2 separate regions of the Homo sapiens genome follow, and region 2 is linked to region 1. The links are contacts of gene promoters, found by promoter capture Hi-C in blood cells and fetal thymus (Javierre and others, 2016). All regions are on one chromosome and are shown on one strand. The core of a region is centred on a gene start or on the middle of the fragment in contact, and the rest is flanking DNA. Distances in the headings are between cores, read along the strand shown. Region 1 holds the start of BMP15 (bone morphogenetic protein 15). Region 2 overlaps SHROOM4 (shroom family member 4).

Region 1 (5,466 bases), core at 1,139-3,638:
CAAGTCCCTGCTTCTCATTAGCCTCATACCCTGCCATTTCCCACAATGCTCATGAGGATCCAGCCATACTGATTTTCCTCTGTTCTTCAATTGGAACCAACTTGTTTTCACCCTCTAGGCATTTGCACCTGTTGTTCCTCTGCCTAAATCAGGCTTCTCCCTACTCTTCTCATGCCTAGTTTATCTTATAGACCTGAGCTCAAATGGCACTTCTTCAAAGATACATTCCCTGACAAGTCCATGGAAAGGGAAGGTTTCATTGCCATTCTCTATCTTAACAACCTACTTCATCCTTTGATAGCACTTACCACAATTCACAATTTAACTGTGTGTGCTTATTTGTCTCCCCTACGAGAACATATGTTCCATGAAAGTAGGGGTTTTACCTATCTTGATCACATCTGTATGCCTAGTACTCAGTAGGTGCCAACATTTGGCACCTAATATTTGTTCAATGAATCTCTACCCACACCATTTTCTCTTTCCTAAATCAGAATGCACTTATCTGCCTCAATGCATGACCTCTTTGCTCCTTCTGCAAGGTCAGTTTCAAGTACTACCTCCTCCATGAGGCCTTCCAACAGTCTCTTCACTTCAAGAAATGAGCCATTTCTTCTCATAGGTCCTGGGAGCCCTACTGTTTGTCCTTTCCAAAGCACTTGGCATACTGTAACATTATTATGTAATTATCTATCCATTCCACTATACTGGGAACTTCTAGAGGTCGGAAAAGTATTTGCTTCTATATACCCAACCCAAACACACTGCCTGGCACTCAATTAAAATCCAGTGGGGAGTCAGAACAGCAAGATGATTAACACACAGGCTTTGGGCCTGAGAGCCTGGGTTTGATACCTGGCTCTAGCAATTACTGGTTGTATGACATGGGTAAGTGACTCTGATCCTCAGTTTCTTCACCTATCAAGTAGGCATGTTAATACTACCTAATCTGGTAGTTGTGAGGATTAAGATAATGTTTATAAAACATTTTGTGCAATGCCTGGCACACAGTAATCTCACAGTAAGGGTTAGGTACGAGAATATTTATTGTTTTGCTTGGGGAGGGGATTAAGTCCTGTCCCTTTTCATCTCAGACTAGTGAAGGCTACAGATTGATCTCACTAGGTTCCCAAGAATTCCTTGAAGTTGATGACTGTCTGCATTCTCTAGAGAGTCCTACACTTCAATAGCCCACTGTTGTCCTGCAACAATGTCTGATGCAAATGTTAAAAGCAAAATCAAGCATGATGGGGACAAAAAAAAGTTCCAAAATACACTTAGTCCCAGAATCCCAAAGTAGCAATATGGCCCAAGTAGAAAAACTATTGGGGGTACAAGGATATTGGAATACTGCATTTAAAGACTTAAGAAGTTACCGACAGACTTTAGAATCAGACAGACTTCAGCTGCAATCCCATCTCTGCGACCCACTATCTGTGTACCATTTGCAAGTTACTTAACCTCTCCGTGCCTTAGTTTTAAAATTAGGCTAATTGCATCAAGACAGTTAAGATAGTAGCTTTCATTAAGAAATACAGTAGCACATGTTCACAGAGCCAGGTATACAGACCCTCAGATGTAAGCTTATTTATGTCCTTTCTGAGGCCTTATAAGTTTCCCCAACTCAGCAAGCTGTACTCTAAGAGCAAAACGCCACTTAAATAGCCCTCCACAAGAATATAGCTGGATATGTCTCTACAGTTTTCAGAACTATCACAAGCAATAAAAGTTTCTGTGAAAGATAGGTGATGGCACATCACTCAGTTGTCCTGGGGCCTGGGAAAGATTTCTCAGTAGGCACCAAGGCAATCTGTTCTTAAGTTGATGCCCTAAAGGGAAGTAGGCTTGGCGCTGGCTTCTCCAAAGCTTGCCATCCTTTGAAAACCAAGCCTAAAGAAACAACCTGCCCACAAGGCAACAAAGCCTGACAGTAAACCCACCAATTCCCTTTTCTCTACACTCCTCTCCACTTCTCTCCCTTCCAGGGCAGTATGGGGGCATAACAACTCACCTCTGTGAGGCCTTGCCACATTGGTCAAGGGCTTCACCAGCCTCACCATGGTGGCCCCAATGGTGCGGTTCTCTCTAGGGTGCCCATGCGAGTCAGCTGAACGCCGGTACAACTCCAGCATGTACCGCAGTGAATGCCCTAGGAGCCGGGGCTTCCTTGGCTGTTCGCCAGGGGATTCTTCTAGCAGCTCCTCAATCAGGGGCAAAGTAGGGGCCTCAGCCAGAAGGGCAATAGAGGACTGCCCTCCTTCTGCCATTTGGGCCCTGTGTTCCATGAAAAGCACGAGTTCACAAAGAAAAAGAATTCTAAGAATACTGAGGAGGACCATCTTGAAAGGCTTAGTGTTCAACAACAGGCCCCAACACAAGCCCAAGGGACGTCACTCTGACCATTTCCTTTCATGCAGATAACTGCATCCTGGCTCCACAACCAAGGATGGGGCAAGAAAAAGAAAGGCAGGCAGGCCCTATGTTGCTTTCTCTAAGAGGATCTCCTGGACCAAAGTTGCCTCATAACTTGGCCTCTTTGCATCAAAAGAAACAGAAACAGAAGGTGGGACAAGGCAGCATGCCCCTCCCGCTCTCCCGGGCTGAGAACAAGATAGTACCTATTGAGAGGCTCAGGTAACTTAAAAGGAGAGGTCCATTTCAGGACCCACTTCCTTAACTTATCCACTAGAATGAAAAAAAGCAGCCTGATCCTACTTGCCCCTACAGCCTTAAAAGTAGTCCCTTAATCCATCCTTAAAGGGCCAGAGGCCTCCTGTTCCCATCCTACTTCCATGCCTCTAATGCAGCATTTCTCAAAATATTGTCTGCTAATAATCTGCAGTGAAACTATCTGGGGTGATTATTAAGAATGTAGACTCCTGGGTCTGAACCAGGATTCTCTGGGATGGCGTCCAGAAATCTGGCTCTTTACCAGTGCTCCAAGAAGTTCCTATGAAAACCTAAAATGTGGAAACTACTGAGTATGGCTGCTGGAGCTTGAAGAAGATGCCGTAACAGTGGTTCTCAATCTTGGCTGTAGATTGGAATCATCTGGGAAGCTTTAACTATTATGAATGCCTGGGTACCATTCTGATGTAATGGGCCTGGGTTGTAACTAGTGCATCAGGATTTTTTTAAGTTCACAAGTGATTTTAATGTGCAGCCACGTTTAAGGACTCTGACTTATAATTTTCTGGTTTACCTTGGAAGGTGTTGAGATCCTTATTGGGCTTCATTAGAGAAGCCTGAGGAAGGGGAAGAGTAATCTATGGGAGCTAACCTAGCCCAGATGGTTAATGTGAAGCAGCAGGGCTCGGCCAGTTTTAAGGCTGCCTCAGACCATTATTCTGCAGAAAGATAGTAGGTATAGTCCTGGCCGTACCGAAGTAGAAACATATGGGGATCTGGAGAGAAACTGGGGAAGCAGGTCAAGACCTGGCTCTAGGAGATGATGAGTCAGGCTTGATTTGTGGGAGGCCTTTACCTTACACCAGGAGTATCTATGGACAGACATTACTGTGGAACAGGCGTGGACTTGGTAATCAGGCAGATCTGTGTTTGAGTTGCAATTCTGTCCCTAGCTGTAATTTAACCTTTCCAAGGCAAATTTCTAGCTGTAATTTAACCCTTCCAAGACAAATTTCTTCACTTCCCTACACCTTAGTTTTCTCATCTGTAGAATGGAGATAACACGTTTTACCTCACAGGTTGTTGTGAGGAAGCAAGGAAATAATCTATGTTAATTGCACAAAGCCTAATTAGACACAAGACATAGGGTTACATGTTCAAATTTATTTGTGCTCTTCCTCTGTTTTTTTTTCTAACATGACCTTGGGCCCTGGCATGTAGTGTAAAACAAAAGGCATAGGTTTACGGGTCCTCTACATCTGGACTCAAATTTCAGCTCAAAAACTCATTAGCTGGGTTACTTTAAGCAACATTTCTCCCAGACTTAGTTTCTTCATCTATACTGCTGGCTCCTTCAGAGAGCTGTTGTGAGGGTTGTATTGTATAATATACAAGTAAGGGATATAAACAGATGATTCACAATAGGCAAAATTTAGATGGTCAAATGTATGAAAAGATGTACTGGAAATCAGAAAAACGCAACTGAAAACAACATTAAGATACTATTCAACACCCAGTATTGATAGCACATTAAATGGATCGATAGCACATTAAAAGTCTGGCACTATTAAGTTCAGGTGAGGATATGGAACATAGGTATAATATATAGAATATCTATATAGATATTCTATATAGAGAGATTCTATATAGAGAGATATGGAACATCTCACACTGCTGTTGAGAGTGTGATTTGGTATAATAATTTTGGAGAGCAATCTGGCATTATCTCTGTTAAGGTTGAAGATATACAATTCAGCAATGCTATTGCTAAAGCAGTAGCAGTTTTAGATACTTTTGTCTGTGACTTACAAAAATGAATACATTTTACATTGCTACCCATTACAAACACAAGCACACACGCATATATACCTTGAAGTAAATCTTTTCTGAAACAATACTTATTCTTACAACATATTGGAAGAGGCAATACAGTTGACCCTTGAACAACATGGGGGTTAGGGGTGCTAACTCGCCCCCCCATCTCCCATGCAGTCAGAATTTGGTATAACTTGACTCCCCAAAAACTTAACTACACGTCAACCTTGAACAACATGGGTTTGAACTTCACGAGCCCACTTAAACACGTTTTTTTTTTCCCACCAAACATGGATCAAAAATACAGTATTCTCAGGATGCAAAACCCGCTTACATGGAGGACTGACTTTTTGTATGTGTGGGTTTTGAAAAATAGACTGCACGCGACTTGAATATGTGCAGACTTTGGTATCTGCAGGAGGTCCTGGAATCAATCTGTCATGTATACAGAGAGGAGGGATGACTATACTAATAGTCCGCTGTTGGCTAGAAGTCTTATGGATAACAATCAATTAACATATTTTGTATGTCGTATGTTTTATATACTGTATTCCTACAATGAAGTAAGCCACAGAAAAGAAAATGATTTTAAGGCCAGGGGCAGTGGCTCACACCTGTAATCCCAGCACTTTGGGAGGCCAAGGAGGGAGGATTGCTTGAGCCCAGGAGTTCCAGACCAGCCTGGGCAACATGCTGAAACAACGTCTCTATGAAAAATACAAAAATTAGCCAGGATGGTGCATGTACCTGTGGTCCTAGCTACTCAGAAGGCTGAGGTGGGAGGATAGCTTGAGCCCAGGAATTCGAGACCAGCCTGGGCAACATGCTGAAACAACGTCTTTATGAAAAATACAAAAATTAGCCAAGATGGTGCATGCACCTGTGGTCCTAGCTACTCAGAAGGCTGAGGTGGGAGAATTGCTTGAGCCATAAAGGCGTCACTGAACTCCAGTCAGCCTGGGTGATAGAGTAGGACCCTGTCTCAAAAAAATGATTTAAAAACATAAAATACGTTTACAGTAT
Region 2 (5,466 bases), core at 1,467-3,966, 230 kb after region 1:
ATATTGAAAAAAGACTATTGAGTTTGCTAATTCAGAGGTTACTGGTTGACTTTGGCAGAAAAGGCTTTATTAAAACATTATGAGCAGAGGCCCAATTTCAGTGAAGAGTGAATGGGAGATGAGGAATTGTATTTTCTTTAGAAAAGGAGGGTGGCAGGGGGTAAATTGGGGAGAGGGACCTATTTATCTCCTGTATTAGACTGTGAATTCCTTGAGAGAGAACATGTCAGATTCACTAGGGTATGACACTGCTAGTTTTCAACAAAAGTTGAGTGTGAGAGTGAAGGAATAAGTTCTGCACCCAGATAGATTCAACAAAATCTTCTAAGATGTTCTTCTGAATTGGATCTGTTCTGCCAGACCCTCAAAACATGTGGTTAGAAAAAAATCACTGAGGAAGTACTTCTGTACCCTAGAGAAGTAGAAGAGTGGAGGTGACAGGATGTCATTGAAATGCAATTTGTGGTCTCTGGACACCTGCCCCACTGCCCAATGTATAGGAAGAGACCTGGAAGGTCTGACCTCAGAACTGCAAGAAATTAGTTGGTGTTTTCTGCATAGGGTAGGAAATACTGAGATGGCTAGAAGTTATGGTGGGGTTGCAGTTTTGTCTGCTGAGTTTAGCTTAAGATTAGGTCAGCCATGGTGGAGAGGGGAGAGAATTTGTTATGATAGGCATATAGCTATATTTGAAGGATATAAATACAGCAGCAAAAGAGGAATTGCATAGAATGAGATCAGGGTAGATCAGAGCTTAATTAGATGAAATCAGGACAAGGGCTGTTTAGGCTGACTATCAGAGAAACCATCTTGATGCTAAAAATTACTGGAGCGTGGGCTAACCTTTGAGAGGAAATGGTGGAAACTTTGCCACTGAGTCATTTATAATTATTTACAATTATACAGGACAATTTTGTTGAAAAATAATGTAGCATAATACAAGGAGTGGTTTTGCTCTGTTCCCAGGATGGAATGGATGTGACTTAATAACTTTTTCCTACGCTAATTTGGTTGATTGTGTCAGAGAAAAGATAGGTTGGTCATTTTGTTTTTCCCCTTTTGAATGACTCATACTTGAGTTGATCACAGCCATACAACCAAAAGAATACCCACTGATTAGGCAGATAACAGAATGTAGAATGGGAAGTCAATAGGTTGACTTAGAACTCAGACTTACCTAAAACTTGGAGAATTGGTCAGGAACCAATAAGTTTCCATAAAGCTAGGCCTTGTGTTTTTCACCATTAATCTCCAGGACGTGGCTTCAGAGCCTGGAATACAGTATTTGATGAATAAACAAATAGTCAATGAATGAATGCATGAATGTCACTTTGGGAAGAACACCTAGGACCACCAGTATAAGATTAGCAGTGGACTGATAAGTTGGACGTCTGCCTTAATATCTCTGGGTCCATTTTCTCACCTCTTTTTCACTGATTTCTACTGAGGATGAAATGAGAGCATGCAGATACTTAGAATTTAGCATCTTTAGAAGTATTAGCTGTCTTTTCCCCTTTATTTTTCTAGACTCAATCTCACCAGTCAAATCAAACTTTATGTTTTACCACATTAGGAAGAGAGAAAATTATGCCTTTTGTCTATTAAAAATCCTAGATATCGGTGTTGAGATATCTTAGATTGACATTAACCAAAACCACTGGCAATTGTAGAACAATTTTTAAAAACAATAAACAGCTAAGGCACTACCAGGTATGATACTCCTTCACTTTGCCTTTTATCAGCTCATCCCAAATCTTAATTTAAATTCAAATAAAATGAAAATGTTCTCTAGAAGCATGTTTTCATCCTTGGGCCTCCCTTAGTATCCAAAATACTCAAGTCTGCCATTCTCAGGGATTAACTATAATTCATACTGTGTTGGCCATTGATATGTTCCCCTAGCCTTGACTATTGGAGCTAACTAGTGGGAAACTCCAACTTTACCTGTTCAACATCTTTGCTTTCAGATTTCCTTCCACCATTCTTTGTCCTTCCACACCAGACAGAATTTATAGAAAAGGGAATAGCTTCATTAAGGAAGTGATGCCACTATGTATGTAAAAATCCCGTTTCTCTCTTTCTTTAAGCAGGAAATATTTTCTATTTTTATCCTTTGCATTACTTTTCTTCCTTCCACTTTGCTGCTTTTCAAGCTGGAATTAAGAGACACCAGTTTAATTTGGATACAATAACTGGACTTGATTAATATTCCGGTACAGCTCACTTCCTTTAACAACAGGGCCTGACACTTTTTTTTTCTCTGAAATGTTTTTTTCAAGGGCTTATATCCCTTGCACAGAACAGAATGTTTTGAACAATATTTAAACGCAGTTTTTGATCAGAGAGTTAAAGTGATCCTATCATAATAGCTAAAGATGGGTACAAAGAATTTGGTGAGCAATCAAGGAAGTGATATAAAATAATTAATGGATAGAAAAGTCATTCAAGTGAAGGCTTTGTGAAAGAATCAAGATTATTCAACCCAGAGAAGATAAAATTTTCAAGCCCTTAGAAATAGCCACTTGCCATGGATGGTTTCAAACACAAAAACAAAACAAAACCAAAGCAAAATTGCCGACTTAACTCATTTCACAGCCAATTTAATGTCCATAGGGGAGTTTTGCCTTGCAAAATAAATAAGCTGTGTATTTGATTCTTCATATATTTGTTTTGTAAGACAAGAAGAAGTGATTTAATAACTGCTTTCAAGGACTAGAAAAAAAAAAAACTACTTTTCTAGAATACCAGGAATTGAATCCCATAATCTTATCCACATCTTTTTCCCTGTCAACCCTAGGGCCTCCCATCAGCCACTTTATTTGTCTTGAAAAATCTACTTCCCCATGCTGTCCAGACTGGAAAACATAATTCCATGATACACACAATAGGGTATCTAACTGTCTTCTTTTTCCATTAAGACAGCACATGAAGAAACAGTATCATTTGTAGCAGGAAGGATTTTAGCTAGGTCTTCTAGAGAACTAAATCACTTTCTGCAGTCAGTAATAAATCACCAAAGAAAGCTATGGAATTTTCTTTACTGACTTCAGCAGATCCTTACCTCCCCAGAGATGCTATGTGGAGATAGAAGAGAAGGGAGTTGGCAGCAATGGCTGAGAAATGGCAGCCTTTTCATCTCTTTGTCTTATTCAAGCCAGAGTTCTCTAAATGTTAATGCATTGAGGGGAATCTAAACTAGTTTTGTGAAGACCGAATGGCAAATAGTCAAAAAGGAACATTGGACTTTGCTCTATCAATTTTTTTTTGTCTCTCAGACACCCAGCTTCTCAGTGTGCCCTTTCAGTATGTAACATAATTTACTACTATAGCATCAACTATTTGAATACTGATGCCTCACACATTTACATCTCTAGTCCAGAACTATTTTCTCAATACTAACTTCATATTTCCAGTTGTCTGGAGGACATTTTTGCCAAGAAACACAGGTACCTCAAACTCAATATGTTTTAATACTTTCCCCCCATCCAGAAACAAGAATGCCCTCTCCTCCTTTCCTGTTCCTGATCACATTTAATGGTCCTAGTCCTTTAAAGTAGGAATTCAAGAAGCATCTTGATCCCCTCTTCTCTCAGCTACCCACTTCACCTTTATCAAATCAGTTACCAAATCCTGTTGGTTCTACCTCAGATATGTATTCATTCAAATCTCATTTTTCAAAACTTTTATTGTAAGTTCAGGGGTACAAGTGAAGGTTTGTTACATAGGTAAAGAGTTAATAGGTAAACTTGTGTCATGGGGGTTTGTTATACAGATTATTTCATCACCTAGATATTAAGCCTAGTACTCATTAGTTATTTTTGTTGATCTCTCCCTCCTCCCACCCTCCACCTTCCAAAAGGCCCCAGTGTGTGTTGTTCCCCTCTCTAAATGATGACAACGTATGGACAAATCTCATACATTTAGCCTCCTTGAACATATTAACCGTTCCCTGAATACAGTGTCCTCTCATGTCTCTGCCTTTGCAGATACTGTTCTCTTTGCTTAGAATAGTGTCCCACTCCTTTACCTGCTAAGTCTCTGCTCATTGTTAAAGGTTTCTGCTATGTATTACAAACTGTTCCTCATCCCTACAGGAGAGCTCCGTCCTCTGTGCACTTAACCACATCTCATCATAACTGTTAGTTTAGATATTGCTTTTCTCTACTAAACTATGATTTCCTTGAAGACAGGGGCTGCATTTTAATTATCTGTAAAGTCTCAGTATCCACAACATGATAGTCTATGTTAACAATTAATGAAGGAATGAATGATGTAACTCAAATCCAATTTATCGGTTTTTCCTTTGATGAATTAATATATACTTTTGGTGTCAAGTCTAAAAACTATTTTCAATGTCCTAGATCCCAAATTTTTTCTCCTATTTTTTTCTAAAATATTTATAGTTTTACATTTACATTACCTCTACATTAAGTCTATGATCCATTCTGAGGTTTTGTGTGCATGTTTAAGTATCAGACTTAGGTCGAGGTTTGTTTTTAGGCCTGTTGTTGTCTCATTGTTACAGCACCATATGTTGAAAAGGCTATCTTTTTTTCCATTGAATTGCTTTTGCAACTTTGTCAAAAATAAGTTTGGCATATTTGTGTGGGCCTATTTCTGTGTTTTCTATTCGATTCCATTGATATATGTGTCTGACCCTCTACCAATACCATACAGTCTTGACTGCTATAGTTATCAAAGTCTTGAAATTGGGTATATTGATTCTTACTTTATTCTTCTTTTTCACAATTGCTTTATCCTAGTTGCTCTGCCTTTCTGGAACAATTGTGTCTATATCAAGAAAATATCTTGATGAGATTTTGATAGGAACTGCATTAAATATGTATAAACATTTAGAGAGGATTAACATGTTTACTATATTGCGTCTTCTAATCCATGAACACAGTGTGTCTTCCTATTCATTTGGATTTTTTTCTTTTTTCAGCATTATGTGGTTTTTAGCATGCATACCCTATACATGTTCTGTTAGATTTACATCTAAGCATTTCATTTTTTTGCAGCAACTGTAAATGGTATTGTTTTTTATTTGTTTTCACATGTCTATTATTTGTATACAGAAATGTGATTGCTTTTGGTATGTTGATCTTGTATGCTTCGTACTTGCTGAACTTGTTTTGTTTGTTTGACTGATTGATTTTGTTAGTTTTAGATTCTTTGGGATTTTCAACATATGTTATCTCCAAAAAGCGACAGTTTTATTTTATCCTTTCCAAATCTGAATGCCATTTATTTCTTTGGTTGCTTACTTTATCTGCTATTAATATAGCCATTCTCTCTTTCCTTTCATTCACATCTACATAGTATATTTTTTGTCTTTGTACTTTCAACCTGCTTATATTATTTGAAGTGAATTACTGTTGACAGCATATAGTTGAATCATGTGTTTTTATGCACTCTGCCAGTCTCTGTCTTTTCATTGATGTGTTTAGACCACTTACATTTCAC

Evidence for each region. The method cuts DNA at HindIII sites, captures the fragments that hold promoters and counts their contacts. A CHiCAGO score of 5 or more calls a contact.
Region 2: a contact is called between a fragment that was not itself captured here and the fragment with the promoter of BMP15 in region 1, in 1 of 17 cell types (M1 macrophages). The highest score is 5.2, in M1 macrophages.

What each region holds. Positions count from the first base shown.
Region 1 is chrX:50,907,657-50,913,122 of GRCh38, reverse strand. BMP15 (bone morphogenetic protein 15) reads right to left here and starts at 2,388. Exons shown (of 2, transcript NM_005448.2): 1 at 2,012-2,388. The coding sequence starts at 2,339. The HindIII fragment of the contact is 1,193 bases long and covers 1,869-3,061 here.
Region 2 is chrX:50,673,559-50,679,024 of GRCh38, reverse strand. All of the region lies in intron 2 of SHROOM4 (shroom family member 4), which reads left to right. Among named protein-coding and RNA genes, the nearest start is that of SHROOM4, 140 kb to the left of the region's middle. The HindIII fragment of the contact is 8,824 bases long and covers 1-5,466 here.